Regions from separate parts of the Homo sapiens genome. Here region 2 is linked to region 1. The links are contacts of gene promoters, found by promoter capture Hi-C in human tissues and cell types (Jung and others, 2019). All regions are on one chromosome and are shown on one strand. Each heading gives the region's core, a stretch centred on a gene start or on the middle of the fragment in contact. The rest is flanking DNA. Distances are from core to core; before and after follow the strand shown.

Region 1 (6,360 bases), core at 1,832-4,331:
AACTGCAAAGCAAATACTTAAGCTCCTCATTTTGCTTGACCACACCATGCCATTTATAATTCGGTCTTATCTTTCATCACTCCCTACTAACCATCCCTGTAGACTCAGCAAACCACTAGACTTCCTCTAACATACCTTGTTCTTTCAGTCTGTGCTTCTACATATATTATTCCAATGTCTTTCCTGACTCTGCTGTGCACTACAAACTGCTTTTGAAGTATCATCTCTTATATGGAATTTCCCCCCACTTCAAACATCTTTGCTGTCAGTGTACTCTTACATCATTCCCTAACAGGACTCAGAACACTGCACAGTAATTGTTTCACATATCTTGATATCCTCAGAATCTACCATAGTTTGAGGCACCTGGTGGACAATTAAGGGTGGGTTTTTATAGACTTTCTGGTATGATCTTATTTTCTATCTACTCGCTGTCGCTCAAGCGTACTGTATGGAGACGCAGGATGTATCATGGTTAAGAGGTCAGATTCTGAAGCCAGGCTGTCTATGTATGACCTTTAGATCTACCACTTAGCTGGGCAAATTAATTAACCTTCTTGTGCCTGGGTTTCCCTATGTGTAAAAAGAGGATTTTATCCTATTATTATTAGACCTACTTCATAATATTATGAAGATTAAATGCCTTAATATGGGCAAAGTGCTCAAAACAGCAACTGGCACAACATAAGCACTAAATATATTGCCTGTTTTAATTAATAGACCTTAGTTACTGCTGATCCTTTCCACAAGCTAGTCCTATATTATGTTCTATATTCTCCATTCTACATTTTGTCCTCCATTCGCTATTATTAATGGGCTGTCTTCATTTTTCCCTTTATCCAAATCCTACCCAGGTTTCAAGGCCAACTTCTGGTAAATCCTTTGCTCATTCCAATCCTTAAATGCTCACTCCAATCCTTAAACGATCATTCCCTAATTTTAATATCTACAGGATTTTCTGCATCACTCTGCATTTAATTAAAACTGCTTTGCATCCTTGTAGTTTTTTTCGTATAAGTTTGTCAATCCAATTATTATAAACTCTTTGAAGGTCCTGATTACATCTCCTGCACCTTTGTGAGTTCGTACAGCAGGTAGTAATTGCTTAGTATTTGCTGTGTAAAATAATAAAGCACAATAGGAACCTCAACTCTGATCATTCTGCCTTTGCAATCAAAGAAACGGAGAAGCTGTGAGAACATTCCATGCTTCTCTAGGAGCCAAGCTGCAAATGTATTAGGGCCAGAGAATTCTGACTCCCATTAAAATGAGCAGCTCTGAAAGGAGGGAGCGGGGAATCCCTCCCTGCCACTGTAGAGGATTTATGGGTTGCCCTTAAGTTCCCAAACCAAATTGTGGCACTGGGGTTTTTATGAGAAACGTGTCAACATGACAAAATGATTCAGAGCACAGGATTTGGAGTCACACAGATCTAGTTTTCAGCGAGACTCCTGTTTCCTTCTCTATAAAGGGGACATTTTAACACCTACTTCACATGTATTTAACTTTCGCCCTAACACTGAACTGAAGTGCAAAGCCTTGGAAACAAATTTAAATAAATTGAAAATACTGCAATTCACAAATAAGAGTGAGAACAACATTTTTAGTTACGTAAGACTATATTATATTAAATTAGGTGGCAGCAGTATTTATAATAATCTAAATTGCCTGTGAGAAAATTAAACTGGTATTGTCAATACATACTTAAAATAAGAAAAAAATCCCACTACAGTCTGTCCTTTTTGACACTTTCTCCTTCCTGTAATTTTTTTCTTTCACTCAAGATTAAAAACAAACGTTCAAGATTATCCCTAAAGAGAAATAGTTGGAAAGCACAATTTAATAGCAAGTTGGTTCTATAAATGTAATATTTCAGTTCATAGTTCAAAAATACTTCCAAATAGGAATTAACATGAATTTAAGAAATTAACATAATGGCACACAGCTAAACTGATGATCTGAGTCCGTAATTTCAAATTAAGAGTTGTTCCAACTTGAAGCTGGCAGTCATACACAGTTTAAAGGGTTTGTTTACAGCACTGTCAAAAGCAAATACCACAATCTTTCAGAAAATTCACCCTGGCATTCTAATAACTAGTTATTTTAAGGCAGTATAATTGTTGAAATACTTCACAAACTAAGCCAAAATGCGTTTCCTTCTGAAGGCAAAAAAAAAAAAAAAAAAAAAAGGTGACGTCTTATTTTTAACCTGTGATTTTTTTTTTTTTTCAGTTTCGGATTATGAAATAAAATGCTGTTCATCCACTGAAGAACAGACCCTTGCTTCCTGCACTATCTTCAAAAGTTTAGGTCGGAGGAGGTAAAATTTTAAAAACTGATTTGTTCTCCTTGGGATACAGTGAGATGTGGAATTCGTTAGGAATGATAATTATTAATAGAAAAGATCAAAAGAAGGAAAGAAACGTTAATAGTGTTTATAAGCATTGTGAACTTTCAACAAAGCTGAAACGTTACGATTTCAAGATGAAAAAACGGCTTTGGGGAAGGGAAATCCACCTCGAGAATGAAGACAAGTGCGGAGCGAATAGAATTTCAGGGGAGATGAAAAGGGGATTGGGAAAAACGTGGGATCTGGTAACAAAAAGGGGGGTTTGTTCTTGAAGGGCGTTCTGCGGGGCGGGCGTTAAGAGGGGTGCGTGCGTGCGCCTGGGTGAAGTTTGTACTCAGGGCTGCGATAATCGAGGTGACAAAGTTGTGGAAGTAGAATTCGGAGGTCCGGGAGCAGGAAGGGGAAGGAATGTGGGGATTTCCAGGCTGGGCTGACAAGTTCCGGGCGCTGCTCTCAGGGGGAAGGGAGGTCTCCTCGAGTGCCAGATAGCCCGTCCGAAACCACCGACACTCTAACTCCAGCTACGCGACCCAGCACCCGGCCCCTCCTCACCTCAGGCCGCGCCGCCTCGACCCTCCGCGTCTCCACAGCGCACGAACCCCTTGGCGCCAGGCTGGGCCAGACCCGTCGGCCTGGCAGGCGCGGCCCCCGGTTCAGCTGCGCCGGGGCGGCCCAGCGCGACTCCGCGGGCCTTTTGGCTGCTCGCCCCGGCTCCGGAACACTGTCAGATCCTTCTCCGCAGAGGTAGCGCGCCACCCCAGTCCCGCGGCGGGGCGGGGCGCTCCCCAATCCCGCCCAGCTGCGCCCCCGGCCGGCCAACGCTGCGCCCCGCCCCCTACCGGGACCTAGGCGCTGATTGGCCCCTGAGAGACCCTTTGCGCCCAGGCATTGGTCCAGTGGCCGCCTGTCGACGAGGGGGCGGGACTCCGAGGGGTAGCGATTCCCGTAACGCGGCTCTTCGCGTCCCGGATTCCGGTGGCTGCGTCCGCGTCGCCTCTCCCAGACTAGATCGAAGGGTTCCCCCCACCTCCCCTCTGTGGGCGGAAAGAGCGGAATGTTCCATTTTTCTGTGGAATAACGGGGTCATGAACTGGAGCCCGGGTGCTGCCCGCCGCCCGCTGCCCCCGCCCTCCCTTCTCGCCAGGGCGCCTGCGGCCTCTCTTCGCGGCCTTCCCCGAGGGACTCAGAGCCGCGAGGGACCGCCTAGCTCCCTTGGGGATGGGGAAGGCGTGGGAGCCTCTTGGGGAAAGTGAAGAGCTCGGTGGCCGTGACTCCGCACGAGACTGCGGCAGATTGTGGCGGCGGCTTCTCTCCAAGACTTACGTAAACGAGCCTTGCCACAGTACTTTTTTAAATTAGTAAATGAGTTTGGGTGCGATTGATCAGTGAGCCCCAGAGGTGGTGGCCCACCAAGCGACTAGTGTTTCTTTGCGGTTTGTACCTCCCCGTTTATGATAAAAAATACCGGGTAAAAACCTATTCATCCCGCCTCCGCCCCCCCCTTTCCCTCAGAAAATGGACCTCAAGGCTCATGATGTTTGTTTCTCCCCAAAGGAAGATGAGAATCTTGAGTTAAAAGATAAGGCATGTGCGTGCGTGCGTGTGGGGTGTGTGCGTGGGTGTCTGTAAAAGTAAACACCCAAAGGTAGAGGTTTTTGTGGAAGAATGAGAGGATATAGGAAGGAAATAATGGTTTAATGAACTTAAATTATATCCATAAATTAACAATTATAAAGTTCTTCATTATATTGAGGATTCAGATAGAGTAAAACATAGATCGAATTTTAATCTCTTAGTTGTTGATCAGATAATTTATAAAAGGGCAAAGTGGGCCTGCTAACGGAGTCGCAGGCAAAGTAGATGGTGCTGCAGCTGATGTGTTCAGCTCTTGCTCCTCCCTGTCATCCTATATCTAACCTATAGATTGTGACCAGATTCTGTTCTAGCTTTGCCATTTAGAGGGGTGTTTATTTTAAAACAAATTTTTATAAAAATTTGTTAAATTGAAAATTTTGTATAGATCCAGGAAACTTGATTTTTTTGTTGTTGTTCACAGTCTCACTCTGTCACCCAGGCTGGAGTGCAGTGGCTGGATCATGCTCACCGCACGTTCAAATTCCTGGGCTCTAGCGATCCTCCCACCTCAACCTCCCAAGTATCTCAGACTACAGGTGCCCCTACAATACCTGGCCAATTTTTAAAATTTTTGGAGAGACAAGATTTTGGTATGCTGACCCGGCTGGTCTTGAACTGCTGGCAACAAACGATCCTCCGGCCTTAGTGGCCTCCCAAAGTGCTGAGATAACAGGTGTGATGCAAAGATGTATTTAGGGGAGATGTATAGTGGTTAAATGTACCCTCTGGTTCTAGATTGCCTAGGTTTAAATGCTGATGCCTCTATTTCTCATCTCTGTGACCTTGGGCAAGTCTTTTCAAATTTCTTCATCTGCAAAATGAGAATAACAATACCAACCTAACAGGATTGTTGCAAGGATTAAATGAGTTAAAATACATACAGTGTTTGGCACATAGTAGGTGCTCTGTAAGTATCAGCTATAATCATTATTGAATGTCTACTCGGTCAACACTTCTGAAATATTTTAGTATCACAACATATATTAAAAATGATGATATTTTGCTGGACGGGGAAGGGCAGGTACACAGAAGTGGATTGATATGTCACAACACACCAGCCTGCCTTGGCACCATTAGGAAAACAAATGACTGAGTTAGTGCTTTTATGGGTGTCTTTTTATTGGCTCAGCTCAGGTCCTGCTCCCAAGAAACTCACATTTTATGGGAGTAGTTAAAGTCTGAGGCCAAAAGGATGAATCAATATTGGAGAAGTATTTTTCAGAGCAACAGGACGGAAGACCTCTGCTGTGCTGGAATTACATGACTTTGCAGATACCTCTGTAGAGTATTGGCCTTGAAATTACGAATTTCAGATTAAGGATTTGTTACTAGAAAGCCTTGTCAAAATGCAAAGGTAAGTAGGGGAAAGTAGTATATTAATGGAGAACTCTCCATTTGTGTCCTGTGACCATTTGAGATTTTAGATATGTCAAGAGCAGGCCGGGTGCAGTGGCTCACACCTGTAATCCCAGCATTTTGGGAGGCTGAGGCAGGCGGATCACTTGAGGCCAGGAATTCAAGACCAGCCTGGTGAAACCCCAACTCTATTAAAAATACAAAGATTAGCCAGGCATGGTGGTGGGTGCCTGTAATCCCAGTTACTTGGGAGGCTGAGGCACGAGAATCACTTGAACCCAGGAGGCAGAGGTTGCAGTGAGCTGAGATCCTGCCACTGCACTCCAGCCTGGGTGACAGAGCAAAACTCCTTCTCAAAAAAAAAAAAAAAAAAAAAAAGAGATTGAGGAAACTGTACAGTGAGAAAGTAACATGAAGGCACCAAAATTACAATTACTTGGGAGTAAGTGAGCAAAGCTTAGGAAATTGTGCCATGGAACAAAGGTGATAAATGTCAAAGACAAACTTTGCCTGCATTTCTAATTCCCTAAATCTGGTGCTGACTAGGATATCCCTTTACTTCCTTGTCTGTGCCCAGTTATGTTTCTGAAATTCTGTGTCAGCCCTGGAATTATCCTCATGTTCTGTATCACCTTAATGATTTCAGCATCCATGTTCATGACTCATTAGCACTCTGACCTCACAATTTCTCATCGTTTTCTTTTCCAATCATCTTCAACTTCACTCTGTATCAGCAACCCACAGATGGAGCCACACCTTCAACCTAGTCATCAATGAAATTACTTCCCCTCCAAAATGCTGGATTGTGAGTTTCCCTCTCTGTACCTACAGCCACCTACCCCCATCTATCTCTATTCTGTGGTCATTCCCATTGAATCTGTAATTTGTCCTCAATGTGACAGCCTGACAGCCAGTCTTTCTTCTCATAGTTTATCAGCTGTTTCCTATCATTTTTTATCTTACTTACCAGTAAGAACCCCCTTTTTTTTTTTGAGACGGAGTTTTGCTGTTGTTGTCCA
Region 2 (6,360 bases), core at 1,880-4,379, 480 kb after region 1:
ACCCTCAAAAGACAAGAAATGGAGGAAATTAACATGTTACACATCAGCATTGGTCTTTGTCTGTTTTTTATTAAGTATGTTCCCAAAGCACTTCATAGGGGAAACTAAAGACACGTGGAATGTTTAAAGAGCACTGCACATCCAAATCATTTGATTCCCAGCTACAAGTCATTAGGGTGATATTATTAACCTCAAGCACACTTGGGAAATGTAGGTAAAGGACTGACAAATTTGGAAGGTCTAAAGTAGAGATTACATTTGTGCAATTTCAAATTTTAGCTAAATGAGTATTTTAAAAGCAAAGTATATTAGGTGGTTTCTGTGTGCCAGATACTGTTCTAAATGCTTTCTATATATTTTATTTCAGTATCATAAAAATCCCATGGACTAGGTACTATTATTAATCCCACTTTACAGTTGGGGAAATTGGTGTTCAGCATGGTTGGTAACTGGCTCAAGGCTACTGAGCTACTTAGGTGGCAGAGTCAGGAATGTCTAACTCCAAAATGTAGGCTTTTAACAAGTATGTTATATTGCCTCTCAATACCTAGAATACAAGGGTAATTAAAAAAATAAGACACAAGAATTTTTGAGATTATTCATTCGTTTTGTGTATGTTTAGTGATGGTGTGTCTATGCCAGGAACTACACATGAGGAGCTGAAGATACAGTTGAAAACTGACTAGGTTCCTGCCCTGTGGCATTTACATTCTAATCTAGACAGAAAAAAATACATAACCATAGAAAAAAATAAAATTAATGTAAGCTGTAGTAAGTGCTATGAGAAAGACAAAGATCCTGATATATTAAATAAGGAAGGAGGACTCTCTTAGCATAAGTTCTCTGTGGAAAGCTTGGCAAAGAATTGCACATAGGTGGTTTCTTTTGGGAAGTGATCACAGGGAAGAGCAGTGGGGACTGGGGGAAAAAAAAAAGAAAGAGGAAAAGCTGAAACTAGGGTGCATTCTCAAGTTGGTCACTGCTGTGTGCCATGGGAACAATTCTGCCGGGACACCAAAGAGTAGAGGAGAATGCACCTCAGAACTGTCCAACCCATAGAAGGAAGAGATAAACACGGGTCCACCACCTCCCAATGGTCACGAGTTGTTCATTTCCTCCCGTTCCTAGGCTGTGCGTGCAAAGCTCCCATCGCAATACCAGAGAAATCCTGGGCCAGAAACTGAAAGAAGCCAGGTACAGCTGAGGCCAGGGGTTGCCAGGTACTGTCACCCAGACAAAGTTTGTTGCTACGATGGCTGGCCAAGAGGTGGGCTGAGTGGGCTGTGAGGACACACAAGGTGACCAATACAGAGACCTGTGTTAGGGGGCTGTGTCAGAGAAAGCTTCCCTGTGGAGGTGGCTTTTGTGATGAGATTTCAGGAGGACAAAGAGCTAAGCATGGTGAGAGCTGAGAGAAGAACATTTCCAAGCATAGGAACCAGCCATTGAAAGGCCCTCAGAAAGAGGTAGCATCTTTCAGGAACTGACACCCAGGGTAGCTGTGATAAGGAAAGGTGAGAAGCAGCCCAGGATGTCATAGGGGTGCAGTGCCAGGTCACACAGAGGCTTGGAGAACATGATAAGGATTTCATTTCTAGTGAATACAAACTCATTGAAGGGTCATAAAAATGCACTCTATTAACCTCCAAACAAGGGATCACAAGAGTTTCAGAGCTGAAAAAGAACCATAGGTGTGAAGCTGAGAGGTCATTCTATACAAGAAAGAACAAACTGGTTGATAGTTCCATTGGCCAAAGGTCCATACTGGGGCCAAGAACAAGGGCTTCCCTCAAAGTCAACAGGGCCAAATTTGTTGTGCACTGCTGAGTTGAGGGAGCTAGTCCGTAGTTCCAGTCTCTGACACAGAAATTGTTGGTAAGAACAACTGAGAACCAAGGGTGGGATGGGATGAGGGTCGGGACTCGATGGATAATATTTGAAGAACTTCTAAGAGTCAGGGTGTCTTACATTTTATTTTATTTTATTTTTGAGATGGAGTCCCCCTCTGTTGCTCAGGCAGGAGTGCAATGGCATGATCTCAGCTCACTGCAACCTCCACCTCCCAGGTTCAAGCAATTCTTCTGCCTCAGCCTTCCAAGTAGCTGGGACTACAGGCACACACCACCACGCCTGGCTAATTTTTGTATTTTTAGTACAGCCGGGGTTTCATCATATTGGCCAGGCTGGTCTTGAACTCCTGACCCTGTGGTCCGCCCACCTCGGCCTCCCAAAGTGCTGGGATTACAGGCGTGAGCCACCCTACATTTTCTTTGGTGCCAGCATAGATCATTGCTTTTAAAGAAAAGTCTCAAATCTCTAAGACTTGGGGTATTAGAACTCTGAAAGAGACTCTTGTACTGGGAGCTCCTGAGTCTCCCCACTTGAGCTTCAGTTTTATCTTCCTCTGATAAGTCTTTCACTTTGATTTCTCCTGTATCTGCTGTGCTGGGCCCAAAGGAGGTATTAACATTCTGGTCCAAGCCTCAACAAAACCCCTTACCCTTGAGATATTTGTTGAACAGGAATTGCCTATGTTTATTTAAACATATTTGCCACATGATTAATGAGCAACATAAAACGCTTACACCTGGGAATCATGAAACTTGTAATTTCCATGCTCCTTGCCTATCTGACCTTTCCTTAGCTCACAGGTACATCAATACACATCCTGTCTCTGTAATACCTTTGGTGGTTGTGTTAGAGCGGACTAACTGCTTAACAAGTCCCAAATTCCAGTGACTTAACACAGCAAAGTTTATCTTTCATTCTGGTCACATTCCCTTACAGAGCTACTGCAAAGTTCTATTCCATGCAGTCATTTAGGAATCCAGGCTCATTCCTTCTTATGGCTCTATCCTCTTCTGAGTTTTTGAAATCTTCTCCATTTGGCCAGTGTAAGGCAAAGAGCACACGTGGAAAAGGCACCACTGCTCTCAGGTGAGGCACATCCACTCTGATGGAAACTAGTCTTACAGCCCACCCTGGTGCACAGGGATTAAGAGGTGTAATCTATTGGGATCCCAAGAATAGGGGACCTTGGGTATTGTGAGCACCAGCAGCCCCTACCACAGTGGTGGAGGAAAACAAAGCACTATTAACCTTCCAAGAAAAATATGGAAGCTGCACATATGCTTTATCATGTAATATAGGCCAGGGTCAGGGGAGTATGCTTGGCTTCCTAAAGTGCATGCAGAAACAATGTAGAGTACACATTGCTATCACCAGAGCTTAGAAGAAACTCAAAGAGCCTGGGCGCGGTGGCTCATGCCTGTAATCCCAGCACTTTGAGAGGCCGAGGGGGACGGGTCGCTTGAGGTCAGGAGTTCGAGACCAGCCTGGCCAACATGGTGAAACCCCATCTCTACTAAAAATACAAAAATTAGGCCAGGCGTGGTGGCTCACGTCTGTAATCCCAGCACTTTGGGAGGCCGAGGAAGGCGGATCATGAGGTCAGGAGATTGAGACCATCCTGGCTAACACGGTGAAACCCAGTCTCTACTAAAAATACAAAAACAAAATTAGCCAGGTGTGGTGGTGGGCACCTGTAGTCCTAGCTACTAGGGAGGCTGAGGCACGAGAATGGCGTGAACCTGGGAGGCAGAGTTTGCAGTGAGTCGAGATTGCGCCACTGCATTCCAACTTGGGCGACAGAGCGAGACTCCGTCTCAAAAAAAAAAAAAAAAAAAAAATTAGCTGGGCATTTTGGCGCATTCCTGTAACCCCAGCTACTTGGGAGGCTGAGGCAGGAGTATTGCTTGAACCCAGGAGGTGGAGGTTTTAGTGAGCTGAGATTGCACCATTGCACTCCAGCCTGGGCAACAGAGTGAGACTCTGTCTCAAAAAAAAAAAGAAAAAGAAAAAGAAGAAACTCAAAGAATATGATATGTATTAGGACAGCAATTTTAAAAATATTACTACACTACTTATTCCAAATAATAAATATTGAAGAAATTTTAAGTGAAATATATTTAGGCGTCTTTTTCTCTCTCTGACTCTTTAGAAATTGTAAAACTTCTGAGCCTGCAGGTCTTCTTTTTTCCTTTTAATTGTGGTAAAATACACATAAAATTTCCCGTCTTAATCAGGTGTAAGTGTACAATTCAGTAGTATAGAGTACATGGCATGGTTGTGCAACCAATCTCCAGGACTCTTTCCATAAACCCAGAATAATTAGTTAACAGTCAAGAACAGGAATAAAATCTAGATTTACACCTCCCACATAAAGATCATAAACATTTCTTTAGAGTGACAATAATGTTATTTTGCCTAAAGCTTGATTTTCAGTATATTGATCATTATCGAGCAATGTTATTTATTATTTTGTTTTTTAACTGTGGTAAAACTTACATAATGTAATTTGCCATCTTAACCATTTTTAAGTGTATAGTTCAGTAGCGTTATGTGTAGTCACATTTCTGAGCAACAATCTCTAAGACTTTTTCATCTAGAAAAACTGAAGCTCTTTATCCATTAAACAATTCTTTCTTCCCCCAGCACCTGGAAACCACAATTCTACTTTCCGTCTCTTAAGAATTTGACTACTCTAGGTACCTTATGTAAGCAAGATTGTATGGTAGCTGTCTTTTTATAATTGGCTTATTACTTACTATAATGTCCTCGAGGTCCATCCATGCTGTAGAATGTGTCAGAATTTCCTTCCTTTTTAAGGCTGAGTAATATTCTATTGTATGTATATATCACATTTTGTTTATTCATCTACCCAGTGATAGACACTTCGGTTGCTTCTACCTTTTGGCTATTATGAGTAATGCAAGAGCAGCCGTTATTAAGGTAAGTTTTGAAGATGGAGAATCACAATGAACAACACACTCACTGGTGTGTGCGTGTGTGTGTGTGTGTGCGCGTGTGCACATGTTCATGCTCTTGTCACCTTCCTCCTACTCACAGACTCAGAGTGTGGCAGAAAACTAATAATTGAATCTAGGACACTTGATTGTACCATTTTCTTTACTCCCATAGGACAGGTTCTTATGTAATGAAAGTATCTCTTAAATTTCATCTACTAAAATGATAATTTTCTGAAAGAATATGGGACATTGTCCAAGTAAAGGGGTTTGAAGTTGCACTAGTTAATTACTCTCAGAGTTAATCCCTCAATAAGTTACTTGTAAGTACCTATTTGGTATTCTATTCAGCGGAGGTTCTGGTACATAAAAACAGTGCACAGTCCTTTCCCTGGTCATAGTTTAGGTATAACGTAAAATACTAGGCTAACACTTTCAAATGGTGTCTACTGAACATCAGTGTTCAGTGTGATGTTAGTAGATGCTTCATAATAATAGCGTTCCATGGTCAAATATGCTTGACCATGGAACACTGTGATACAATTTTTAAATTTTTATACAAACACAACTTAATTGAGGCCCAAGCACAGGGGTGATGGGGTGGGAGGGGAGTATGTCTGTGTTGAGTTCAGTTACGGGAGCGATTTAGCATCTAGTCAAGGCAGAGAAGTCAATCATTGAGCAATCACTGGTAAACAAAATGACAACTCATCTAGATATCACACATTATAATTTTCTCGAATTAAAATCTTTCTATTGGCAACTTTCAAAACTCTTGTGCATCACTGGGCTCATTAGGTAAACTGTGTAATGTCCGGGTGTCTCATGGTGGTAGATTTCTAGCCCATAATGGTGCCAAAAGTTGCCCACCCATCAAACGCACCTCTTTCACCACTCTCAACTTTAAGCCCCCGGAGTTGTAGATGTATCTCTCATGGGCTCACTCTTCTAGAAAAGGTGGGCTTTTCTGGACATAGTCCCCCAAACAATGCTGAGGCCCATGCCATGAGGGCCATCACCCAGGGGATAACAGGGAGGTGAGGGCCTTCCTAGGCTGTGACCCTAGTGATGCAGGAGCAGCTCTCTTGCAGCTCTCACTGAGGCAATGTCTCCCATGACCTAAGCAGAAATGCGGAGGAATCCCATCCACACTCCTGGAAGCCGGAGAGCCCTCTCTCCATAGGACGCATCCCTAACCCTTGGGGAGGGCCTTGAGAACAGCTGCCACAGAGGTGAGGCAAAGCTTTACCTCCACCCACTTAGGGTCCAAGCTAGGCCTGATAATTAAATTGACAGACGAACAGGACAAAAGCATGCAAATTTACCCTCAGTTTTGCATGATACAAGAGCCCTCATAAGAAAATAAAGACCCAGCTTCATCCATGTCCCTACAAAGGACATGAACTCATGATTTTTATGGCTGCATAGTATTCCACGGGGTATATGTGCCACATTTTCTTCATCCAGTCTATCATTGTTGGACATTTGGGTTGGTTCCAAGTCTTTGAAGCTGGAAACCATCATTCTCAGCAAACTATAGCAAGGACCAAAAAAC

What was found. Contacts are between HindIII fragments. The study calls those that stand out against the background at their distance.
Region 2: a contact is called between a fragment that was not itself captured here and the fragment with the promoter of IL6ST in region 1, in 1 of the 25 tissues and cell types used here (dorsolateral prefrontal cortex).

What each region holds. Positions count from the first base shown.
Region 1 is chr5:55,991,882-55,998,241 of GRCh38, forward strand. IL6ST (interleukin 6 cytokine family signal transducer) reads right to left here and starts at 3,082. Exons shown (of 17, transcript NM_002184.4): 1 at 2,903-3,082. IL6ST-DT (IL6ST divergent transcript) reads left to right here and starts at 3,286. Exons shown (of 2, transcript NR_102755.1): 1 at 3,286-3,673. RefSeq lists cis regulatory regions at 1,850-4,168, 2,862-3,535, a silencer at 2,813-3,292 and an enhancer at 3,124-3,635. The HindIII fragment of the contact is 11,738 bases long and covers 1-6,360 here.
Region 2 is chr5:56,469,109-56,475,468 of GRCh38, forward strand. All of the region lies in intron 1 of LINC01948 (long intergenic non-protein coding RNA 1948), which reads right to left. Among named protein-coding and RNA genes, the nearest start is that of LINC01948, 9.5 kb to the right of the region's middle. The HindIII fragment of the contact is 4,062 bases long and covers 1,099-5,160 here.